Regions from separate parts of the Homo sapiens genome. Here region 2 is linked to region 1. Evidence: promoter capture Hi-C in 16 types of primary human blood cells and fetal thymus (Javierre and others, 2016). All regions are on one chromosome and are shown on one strand. Each heading gives the region's core, a stretch centred on a gene start or on the middle of the fragment in contact. The rest is flanking DNA. Distances are from core to core; before and after follow the strand shown.

Region 1 (5,229 bases), core at 1,884-4,383:
TTCCCACTCCCTGTAAGAACCACAGGGCAGGACCTTGTCTTCCCAGCCTCTATTGGGTTCCAAAGGCCTGGTCCAGGGCAGGTACTCAGTAAATAATTGCCAAGTGAATAAATGAATGTTCACTGCCAACAGCCTCCCATGCACAGATCATCTTACCCAGACTCTGCAGCCCACGGTCCACATCAACCACCTTTAAGCCTTTTCTTCTATTGCAACCCCACATCCACTGCCCTAACTGTCCTGCTGGCTGCTCACAGAACCCTCTGTCTGCCTCCAAACTTTTGCCCATCAGGACTCTCCACTTGGAACTCCTTGACTACTATGTGGCCTTCATGACCCAGCTCAAGACACCATGTATTCCCAAGAACCTTTTCTGTTGTTTCCAGTTGGAAGCGTAGCCTCTCTGGTCTCTGGGCCCCAGTGGACAAATCTCTGCAGGAGAGGAGGACTGCACTCTCATTAATAGATTGTTGGCGGGCACAGAGGCTCATGTCTGTAATCCCAGCACTTTGGGAGGCCAACGGGGGCAGATCACTTGAGGCCAGGAGTTCAAGACCAGCCTGGCTAACATAGCGAAACCCCATCTCTACTAAAAATACAAAAATTAGCCGGGCGTGGCAGCTCACACCTGTAATCCCAGCTACTTGGGAGGCTGAGGCAGGAGACTCGATTAAGCCCCAGAGGTGGAGGTTGCAGTGAGCTGAGATCAAGCCATTGCACTCCAGCCTGCATGACAGAGCAAGACTCTGTCTCAAAAACAACAATAACAACAACCAGATTGTCTTCTGATTGATTAGGTTCTCTATAAATCTAAACACTGATTATCCTCCCCCAGCCTACCCCAGCTCTCACCAAGGCCACAGCCAGGCCTATCACCGTGATGATCCCAAAGGACAGAAGCATGGTACCCACGCCGGCCGTGCCACCAGCTGCATCAGGGATTCTGGTGTCATTAAAGGTGGTGGCCTCTGGGCTGAGGGTAGTGGTCTCGGAGGCTGGCCCATCTGTGGCAGGTTCCAGGTCAGACTCAGAGGTGGGTGGGCGGCTGCTGAACCAGCCCCTAGCAGATGCGGTCCTGGAGTTCATGCTGATGCGGAGAGGGCCCTGGCTGAGAGGCTGCCTGATGCCAGTCAACCTGCCCACTCACTCCTGACTCCGGAGTGCCCCAGCCTGTGGTTCCTGCCACCTGTGGTGGCCACCTGCACAGCCACCTCCTTGGATAAAGGGAGCCCCCTGCCTTCCTGGGTGCTAGAAAGGAAAGAATAAGAAACATGAGGCTAAGGACAGGGGCTCAGTAGTGAGATGAAGTCTCTCTAGGTTCTGAAAGCACTGGGGAGGTAAAGGTTTGAGGGCAAGAATGAGGGTAAGTTCAGGAGACATTAGGACACATACTTTACGTATCTACGGTGCCCCTGTTTTTGGGAACAAAAATGAAGCCCTGCATCCTCTGTCTGTGGGTGAGATGATCATAGTGATCAAACCTGGAAGATATGAAAGGCAGCGGGGATGTTTGAAAGAAAAAGTCTCCCTCCCCTGATCAAAAACTCCCCTCAACCTGCGTCCCCATATCCCCCACCTCCCCATATCCACCTCCTCATTCCCTGCCTCCCACATCCCTCATCCTGCTTGGGGGAAAAAATACCACAGCTTTTTCCTTTCCTGGAGGGAAACACTTGCCCAAGAGTCAGACAGGCCTGTCTTTGAAACCTAGCTCAGCTGCTTAACTAGTGATCCCTAGAAAGTCACTCCACCTCTCTGTGTCTCCGTTTTCCTGAGTCTAAGGTGGGGATATTGAGAACATCCCCACAGGGTCATGGGGTTACAGAAATGGCAGAACAAACAGGTGTCGAAGAAAGACTTAGCTCAGCACAACCCCCATCCACAGTAAGCATCCACTACATGTTAGATTTTCTCCCCATGGCCAACCCAGTCACAAAGGGGAGCCAAGGGAGCCCCTGGACCCAGTCCACTGTATGGTCCAGACTATGCTTGGAGTGTGGGTGGAGGCTGATGTGGAAAGACCAGAAGACAAGAAGGAGAGAGAGGCTCTGGTTCTCTGGCGGGGCTTCTCCGCAGGCTCTCGGGGACATTGGACTGCCCTCCCCACCCACCAACAATAGAGGGGCTGCTAGGGTCAAGGAGAAAGGCGAGGCAGGAATGGAGCTCCCAGTGTGGGTGCCTTCTCTTCCTTTACCCTCCTCCCCTGGAAGCAGAGGGTGAGAGATTTGCCCAGTGCAGAGGGCCCTGGTTAAGGTGGGGTGGGAAGAGGTGCCAGCCAAGCTGCAGATGGGACGGCCTAGGGAGAGGAGGGATACCTAGCTCGTGGGTGCATACATCCCCCTGTGCTGGTTCATGGGCATTAGTGGGGTTGCCTCCCTGTGCAGATGCATGGGCGTGTGTGAGATGTGTAAACACCTCTGATGGTCCCTGAGGAAGGGGCAAGGCTGGCAGAGGGTTATGGGGTAGAAAGGCTCATCCCTCTTTGCCTTCTCCCTCCAGCTAGGCTGGGCACATCTGGGCACATAGGAAGTCCCGGGTTCTTTTCTTGGCTTTGCAACTGATCCCGGGCGTGACCTTGGGCCAAACCCTTAACTCGTGCCCTGGGGCTCTGTTAACATCGCCTCCCAAAGGAGAGAAGAGGCCCTACTGACCACTTTCCAGGCCTGCCTCAGGGTCCAAAGGGGAAGGGAAGGAAACCGGGGTAAAAGGGGTCGGCACCGCGACCTTCGAGAACCCGCATGCTGTTCTCCACCAGGTCTCTCAGTCCTCCCTGCCCCAATCCCCATGCCCGCCTCCGCGACCCTGTGATGCCTCCCTTCTTGCACAGGAGCAGTGACCTCAGCACTTACTTAATCCTCTCCCGGCGCCGAGCTCAGTTGGAGAGGCTAGGGGTGGTAGTGACTGGCAGGAGGCCGGGGCGGGGGGAACCCCCAAGCCCGGCGTCTGGGGCTGCGGGTCCGACCCGAGATCCGCCCTCCCTGCAAGCCCCGAGCCGCTGGCCAGGCCCGCTACTGCGCACCAGCCGCATCCGCGAGCGCTGGCTCTGCCGGCCTGAGCTAGGGTGGGTAGGGCCGGGACCCACGGCGGAGGTGGGGCCGGGCCGAGCAGCCTCGGGGGATCCCCGAAGCTACAGCGCCTTGCCTCCCTGCACGCTCCGCGCCCCCGGCCTCCGATTGGCTGTCGGGCCTAGAGCCCGCCCAGAATTGGACCGTTCGCTTGTCGCTCGGGTCTGGCTCCACCCCCAGAGGGAGCCTAGAACCTGGTCGCAGTTTTTAGAGACTACCCTCACCCCGTGGCCTGCGCCGAAGTTGGGCGGAGGACAGTGGGTGGCCAGGCCCTTCCGGGCCAGAACTCGGGACCCCTGCCAGCTACCCGTGCCAGGACAGACTCAAGCCCCCAAAACGCGGATGGATGTACAGAGGAGACTTGGGGAGAGCACTGGACTGGGAGTCCTTGGGCCTGCACTGAACTCTGGCTGACTTTGTGACCTTGAAGAAACTGCTTTTCCCTTCCTGAACCTTGGCTTTCTACTCAGACGGGTCCTCTGGTGTGAGGGTTCTAGACGAAGATGGGGAATCTTCGTCTACAGAAGTTGAGAGTGGGGTGGATTTATTATTGGGCACCCCGACCCAGGCAAGTCTACATATACCCTCACAATAGCTTCCATCCACGGCATGATCAGCTCAGGGAAGGAGCCCTCAGATACTCCTGATCCGCCGGTTTTCAAAGTAGTTTATGGGAGTCACCGGGTAGCCTGGTACAAATGCAAACGCCCCTGTGTCTCCCGGTCTGGGAAGGAGGCAGGGAAACAGCATGTTTAATAGCAGTTTAAGGCCGGGCGTGGTGGCTCACTCCTGTAATCCCAGCACTTTGAGAGGCCGAGGCGATGGATCACCTGAAGTCAGGAGTTCGAGACCAGCCTGACCAACATGGTGAAACCCTGTCTCTATTAAAAATACAGAATTAGCCGGTCGTGTTGGCTCACGCCTGTAATCCCAGCTACTTGGGAGGCTGAGGCAGGAGAATGGCTTGAACCCGGAGGCCGAGGTTGCAGTGAGCAGAGATCGCGCCATTGTACTTCAGCCTGCGCAACAAGAGCAAAACTCCGTCTCAAAAAAAAAAAAAAAAAAAAAGAAAAAAAGAAAAAAAAAGTAGTTAACAGTGTTCTAGTTAACAGTACTTTCTGGTGGGGAGATGTTGACAAGACACACTTTGCGAGACGCTGCCGAGTATTTTATAGAAGGCGCAACTGAGGTCCAGAGGTCCCAACACCTGGAGGAGTTGCCAATAGAGTCAAGATTCGAATCGGTAAAAGAGCGGCCCCTGGGGTCTGGCCGCCAGTCGGCCGACCCCCTGGTGGGCTCGGGCCACTGACCTCGGTAGGGTCACGACACTGGGACTGGACCCCAAAGTTGGACCAGCCTTCAACACTGGAACCCGCCCATGCACAGCTCCACCCGGCCCCCAGGCTAAGATAGACCACGCCCCCGGACATCTGGTCCCCGCCGGAACACCCGGGCCCTCTGGTGACACGCCCCCTTTCCGGCAGGCTACTGGGCTCCGCCCACACACCTCCCGGCCTGGTTCCTAAACGCCAGCTCGGAGCAATCCCCTTGGGCTGGAGCCAAATCCCTGCTGTGATTTTAAGGAAGACCGGCAGGTCCGGGCCCCCAAGGGTCAACCCCACACACATCCCCGCACTTTCCTGTATGCAGGCCTGCGAGCGTAGAGGGAGTGGAATTCACAGCCTCCCCACCCATCCGCAGGGGTCTCCTGGGAGGAACCCACCAGCGATAGGAACACTGAAGCTGGGCTACGGCGTCCGCCCGAGCCTTTTCTTAAAGGCGCCGACCCCGGAAGCGGGGCGTCCGAGGGAGCGCGCGACGGGCCACGCACGTCCGGGCGTCCAGTTCGGGGCAGCTTCTCCGGCTGGTGGGTGGGTGGGGCAGCCTTTCAGGCAGGTATGCATGGGAGGTGGGGATCGGAACGGGGTGTTTCGACTGCAACCGCCTGGAGACCTGGCCGGTACCATTCTCCATAGTGCAGATGGGGAAACAGGGTTGGAGAGAGGGGGCCTCATCTGGGTCGTTAACAATGCGGTGCGTAGCTGTGAGGGAGTTTACACTTCTGACTTCGGGCCTTGGCTCCTGGGACGGCGCACTGGTGCAAGAGCCGCTTCTGGAGTCTGGTGGACTCGGGTTCGTGTCTTGCCTGGGACAGTCTTTTTTT
Region 2 (5,229 bases), core at 704-3,203, 860 kb after region 1:
GCAACAAGAGTTGCACACAAGAAAGTTTGAGGAAAACTTCAGCTGGTTCCCAATATAGCTGCGCTGGGCCATATTCTATCAAAAATTCCATCATTTCCACAATCTGTTCATGAGTATATGAGCATGCCTATAAGGAGAGATATATAGTATTATTATTATATATAACTCTACATCTGCCTACTACCTCCTTGAGCACAGCTCACTGGCCAAGAGATTTTATTTTATTTACTTATTTCAAGACAGGGTCTCACTTTGCTGCCCAGGCTGGAGGGCAGTGGCTTGATCACGGCTCACTGTAGCCTCAATCTCCCAGGCTCAAGCTGCCCTCCTGTCTCAGCATCCCAAGTAGCTAGAACCACAGGCACATGCCACCACACCCAGCTAATTATTTTATTTTTTGTAGAGACAGGGTCTCATTTTGTTGCCCATGCTGGAGTGCAGTGGCATGATCATAGCTCACTGCAGCCCTGAACTCCTAGACTCAAGCGATCCTCCCACCTCAGCCTCCTCAAGTGCTGGAATTACAGGCATGAGCCACCATGCTTGGCCAAGGTTTTAATTATAAATTAAATAATAATACCTTTCAAATTCCACAATTCTTGAGTCAAAAGCCCATATGTGAAGTAATGACCATAGATTGCTTAATCTTTTATCTTATTTATAACTAGACTCACAATATGATTTGTCCAAAAAGATAACAAAAGTTTCCTTTGTGCATATAAGTTACAGCTTAAGAGAAAGAAGCATCATGTGACTGATTTCAATTTGTGACTTTTTTTTTTCTTGAGACTGGTTCTCACTCTGTTGCCCAGACTGGAGTGCCATAGCCCGATCACGTGCGGCCTCAAACCCCCAGACTCGAGTGACTCTCCCATCTCAGCCTCCCAAGTAGCTGACACAGGTGTACCACCATGCCCTTTTTTTTTTTTTTTTTTTTGAGACAGTCTCTGCCCAGACTGGAGTGCAGTGATATGATCGTAGCTCACTGCAGTCTTGAACTCCTGGGTTCAAATGATCCTCCCACCTCTGCCTCCCAAGTAGCTAGAACTACAGATGCACACCACAGGGCCCAGCCAATTTTTAAAATTTTTGTAAAGACAGGGTCTCACTATTGTTGCCCAGGCTGGTCTCAAGAAATCTGCTGGTGATTTTTTAAAAAACATGCAGCTACTCGTCATTATCCCAAAACATATCAAATTCCACAATGATAGTGAAGTGGAGTTATAAACACATTTTCAGAAAAGAAATTCTGCACAGAAGGCAAATCATCTAGTACTTTTCATACAAAAAAGCTCTTTGCCAGGTACAGTGGCTCACACCTGTAATTCTAGCACTTTGGGAGGTCGAGGTGGGAGGACTGCTTGAGTCCAGGAGTTCCAAGACCAGCCAGGACAACATAGTGAGACCCCCATCTCCACAAAAAAATTTAAAAATTAGCTGGGTGTGGTGGTGTGTGCCTATAGTCCCCCAACTACTCAGGAGGTTGAGGTGGGAGGATCACCTGAACCTGGGAGGTTAATGTTGCAATGAGGTGTGGTCACATCACTGCACTCCAGCCTGGGTGACAGAGGGAGACGTATCTCAAAAAGAAAAAAAGAAAGCTTTTTTATACACACTTCAGTTAATCTTTTAGTTCTAGAATCCCAGCAACTTACAACTGGAAGCAAAATAATTCCCTGAAATTCACCTATTACATCCATTTTTCAATTGTTCTGCCTTCATACAGGGAAGTATACTCCAACAATGGACATAGCACAGAGTCCACTGATCTGAATGTGAGTTTCAGGACTGAGATGCTACAGAGAGGGCTAACAGAACTTTCCCTTTCAAGGCAAGGTCCTCTCACCTTGTACGGGGGTTGTGGGTGGACAAGAATGCCACCCTCAGTCCTCTGAAGTGACTGCTTCACTTGTTCCAATTTAATGGCCAGGTGAGCCTCAAAGTATTTGCGCAAGGCCATGCAGGTATGTTTCCCAGTTTGGCGGCTAGCAAATATTTCATCATCACTCAGAAGTGCACCCTGATCTTCCAAATTTAGAATCTCCAAAGTACTGATCTATTAAGATGCAAAATATTGGGGCAAAAGAGGGGAAAAGGCAAGAAGAGTTAAGTAAAAATATTTAAAAAAGGGAAAATATTTTAGTAAACTTTTTTTACTTTCCATACATATTCTGCTTATGTATCAGTAAACTTTTATGCTTAACAAGACTGACAAATATCAACGCATATTTATGTATATCTATGTATATAGCATGCTAACAGTAGCTATATGAAAGCAAAACATTAAACTCATACCAAAAAATGAACAAGCTTTTAATCATATTAAAAAATGTACAGGAATAAAACTATTGCTTTTACAAAGATCAAGATCATCAACTGCCAATCCCCGTTATAAGATTACTATATCCAAGGCAAGTCTACAACGGCACAGTGTCCTCTAACTACTAAAGAAAAAGAGAAATTTGTGAAGAAAGGGAAAAAAAAAAAACTTCACAAAAAGAATGGCAGCAAAACTCCTCTAATCAGAAGCTTCCTTTCTTCAAGGGTGTGCCGTTAAAGGGCAGCCAAGACAACCAGGACCCTCAATCCTAGGGAGAAAAGCACTGAAAGAACCTCACCAAGTTCACCAGACGACGAAGACCATCATAGCGGTCAAAGAGCTCCAAGACGGCCCGAAATGAGAAGCAAATTGAAAAAAACATGGTAGCATGGCAGCATCCTGAAGCATGAGAACACTCCATTAACCACAGGGTATAGTTCACCACATCAGACAGAACATTGTGGGGATGCATGCAAACCTGCAAAAAAATACAAATAAAACAATGCTTTTAAATTGTGGGCAAAGGAGCCCTTGAACAGGATGGAAAATTTGCCAGTATAGATATCTGCAGAATACAATGACCATCTCCAATCAAGTCACTCTTAGTACAAAGTTTAGGTAATAATACAAAGGCAATTTTAGAACACGATCCATTCCAAACCTGAAAACGACCTAAATTTAGATAAATATTTAAATACAACCTATACTTACTGAGTGCCAACAAATATTTACATCATTTAATGCTCACGAGGGCTCCATTATACAGGTATTAGGATTCTCACTTAAAAGAAGAGGAAGAGGTAAGGAACTTCTCCAAATGTGATAAAAGTGGCTCAGATTTCTGATCCTAAGTCTAGGAGTTTGGTATTCATTCTCTGGTTAATTCACACACATTTTGATGTCTACTATGGGTCAGAAAATGAAACTGTAAAGCATCCCCAGGTTTCCTTGATATTTTTTTCTCTATCTTAGCCATAAGTAATTTTGTATGTACACACATAGATTAGTTTATTACTCCCAAAAGACTACCTATCTTGCATAAACACCAAAATAAAAACAAATTAAAACTGATATTATTAATAAGCAAAGATAAATAATGTCATAGCTCGAGAAGAAATTACCCATTTCACTCTACCAGAAAAGACACCAAATAAGAATATTAGAAAAATGTCCCAGAAATAGAAGTAACAAGAGCTTTGCTTTCCTAGGGGATCACAGGAGCCCATCGCTTTTCAAATGTATAACCCACAGCCTGGGCAAAATGGCAAAACCCTGCCTCTACAAAACACGCAAAAATTAGCCAGGTGTGGTGGTGTGCCCTTGTTGTCCCAGCTACTTGCGAGGATGGTTTGAACCCAGGAGGCCGAGGCTGCAGTGAGCCAAGATCATGCCACTGGACTCCAGCATAGGCGACAGAGCCAGACCCTGCCTCAAAACAAAAACAAAAACAAAAAACCACATACGTATGTGTAACCCATTTACACTTTTTAAAAAATCACAAGGCCAGGCACGGTGGCTTATGACTGTAATCCCAGTACTTTGGGAGGCTGAGGCGGGTGGATCACTTGAGGTCAGGAGTTCAGGACCAGCCTAGCCAACATGGTAAAACCCCGTCTCTACTGAAAAAAAAAAAAAATTAGCCAGGCATGGTGGCACGTGCCTGTGATCCCAGCTATTCAGGAGGCTGAGACAGGAGAATCACTTGAACCCAGGGGGCAGAGGTTGCAGTGAGCTGAGATCCCGCCTCTGCACTCCAGTCTGGGTGACAGAGCAAGATTCCGTCTCAAAAAAAAAAAAAAAAAAAGATTATATATGAAAGAGTCTTAACTACAAAAACAGTAGAACCAAATGGAAAACCTCTCTGCAGCCCTAGGAACAGTTGGGATGGTTTTATTATCTCCATAACAAACTATTTGTTAATATAAAACAAGCATCAGCTGAGTGTGGTAGCCCATGCCTATAATCTCAGCACTTTGGGAAGCCATGGTGGGAGGAGTACTTGAGTCCAGGCGTCGGAGACCAGCCTGGGCAACATGGTGAAACCCAATCTCTACAAAAAGTACAAAAAAAAAAAAGAAGTACAAAAATTAGCCAGGTGTGGTGGTGCACGTCTGTGGTCCCAGCTACTTGGGAGGCTGAAGTGGGAGGATGGCTTGAGCCCAGGAGGTCAAGGCTACAGTGGGCTGTGATCACACCACTGCACTACAGCCTACAGCCTGGACAACAGAGCGAGACCCTGTCATTAGAAAAAAAAAAGGCCGGGCATGGTGGCTCACGCCTGTAATCCCAGCACTTTGGGAGGCCAAGGTGCGGGAATCACAAAGTCAGGAGTTCGAGACCAGCCTGGCCAACGTGCTGAAACTCTGTCTTTACTACAAATACAAAAATTAGCTGGGCACAGTGGTGGGCGCCTGTAATCCCAGCTACTTGGGAGGCTGAGGCAGAAGAATTGCTTGAACCTGGGAGTTGGAGGCTGCAGTGAGCCAAGATGGCACCACTGCACTCCAACCTGGGAGACAGAGCAAGATTCTGTAAAAAAAAAAAAAAAAAAAAAGTATAAAAAGTAGCCAGGCATGGTGGCACAAGCCTGTAGTCCTAGCTACCTGGCAGGCTGAGCACTTGGGCAATAGGGCAAGACCCTGTCTCTAAAAATACACAAACATATACACCCCTATATACGATATAAACGTGTGTGTGAATGAATCAGTGAGAGACTAGGTCTGTTGTGTGTTTTTTTTTTTTTAAACGGAGTCTTGCTCTGTAGCCCAGGCTGGAATGCAATGCCACAGTCTCGGCTCACTGCAACCTCCGCCTCCTGGGTTCAAGCAATTATCCTGCCTCAGCCTCCCAAGTAGCTGGGATTACAGGCACCTGCCACCATGCCCAGCTAATTTTTGTATTTTTAGTAG

What was found. Contacts are between HindIII fragments. The CHiCAGO score rates a contact against its expected background, and 5 or more counts as called.
Region 2: a fragment that was not itself captured here is called in contact with the fragment with the promoter of C3orf18 in region 1 in 4 of 17 cell types (total B cells, naive CD4 T cells, naive CD8 T cells and 1 more); the score reaches 7.2 in total B cells.

The regions. Positions count from the first base shown.
Region 1 is chr3:50,564,614-50,569,842 of GRCh38, forward strand. It overlaps C3orf18 (chromosome 3 open reading frame 18), which reads right to left and starts at 3,134. Exons shown (of 6, transcript NM_016210.5): 1 at 2,850-3,134; 2 at 1,393-1,481; 3 at 853-1,248. The coding sequence starts at 1,086. It overlaps HEMK1 (HemK methyltransferase 1, mitochondrial release factors N(5)-glutamine), which reads left to right and starts at 4,909. Exons shown (of 11, transcript NM_016173.5): 1 at 4,909-4,961. RefSeq lists a silencer at 2,766-3,275 and an enhancer at 4,714-4,833. The HindIII fragment of the contact is 20,682 bases long and covers 1-5,229 here.
Region 2 is chr3:51,427,415-51,432,643 of GRCh38, forward strand. It overlaps DCAF1 (DDB1 and CUL4 associated factor 1), which reads right to left. Exons shown (of 25, transcript NM_001387579.1): 11 at 2,619-2,798; 12 at 1,847-2,056; 13 at 1-127. Among named protein-coding and RNA genes, the nearest start is that of RBM15B, 39 kb to the left of the region's middle. The HindIII fragment of the contact is 709 bases long and covers 1,600-2,308 here.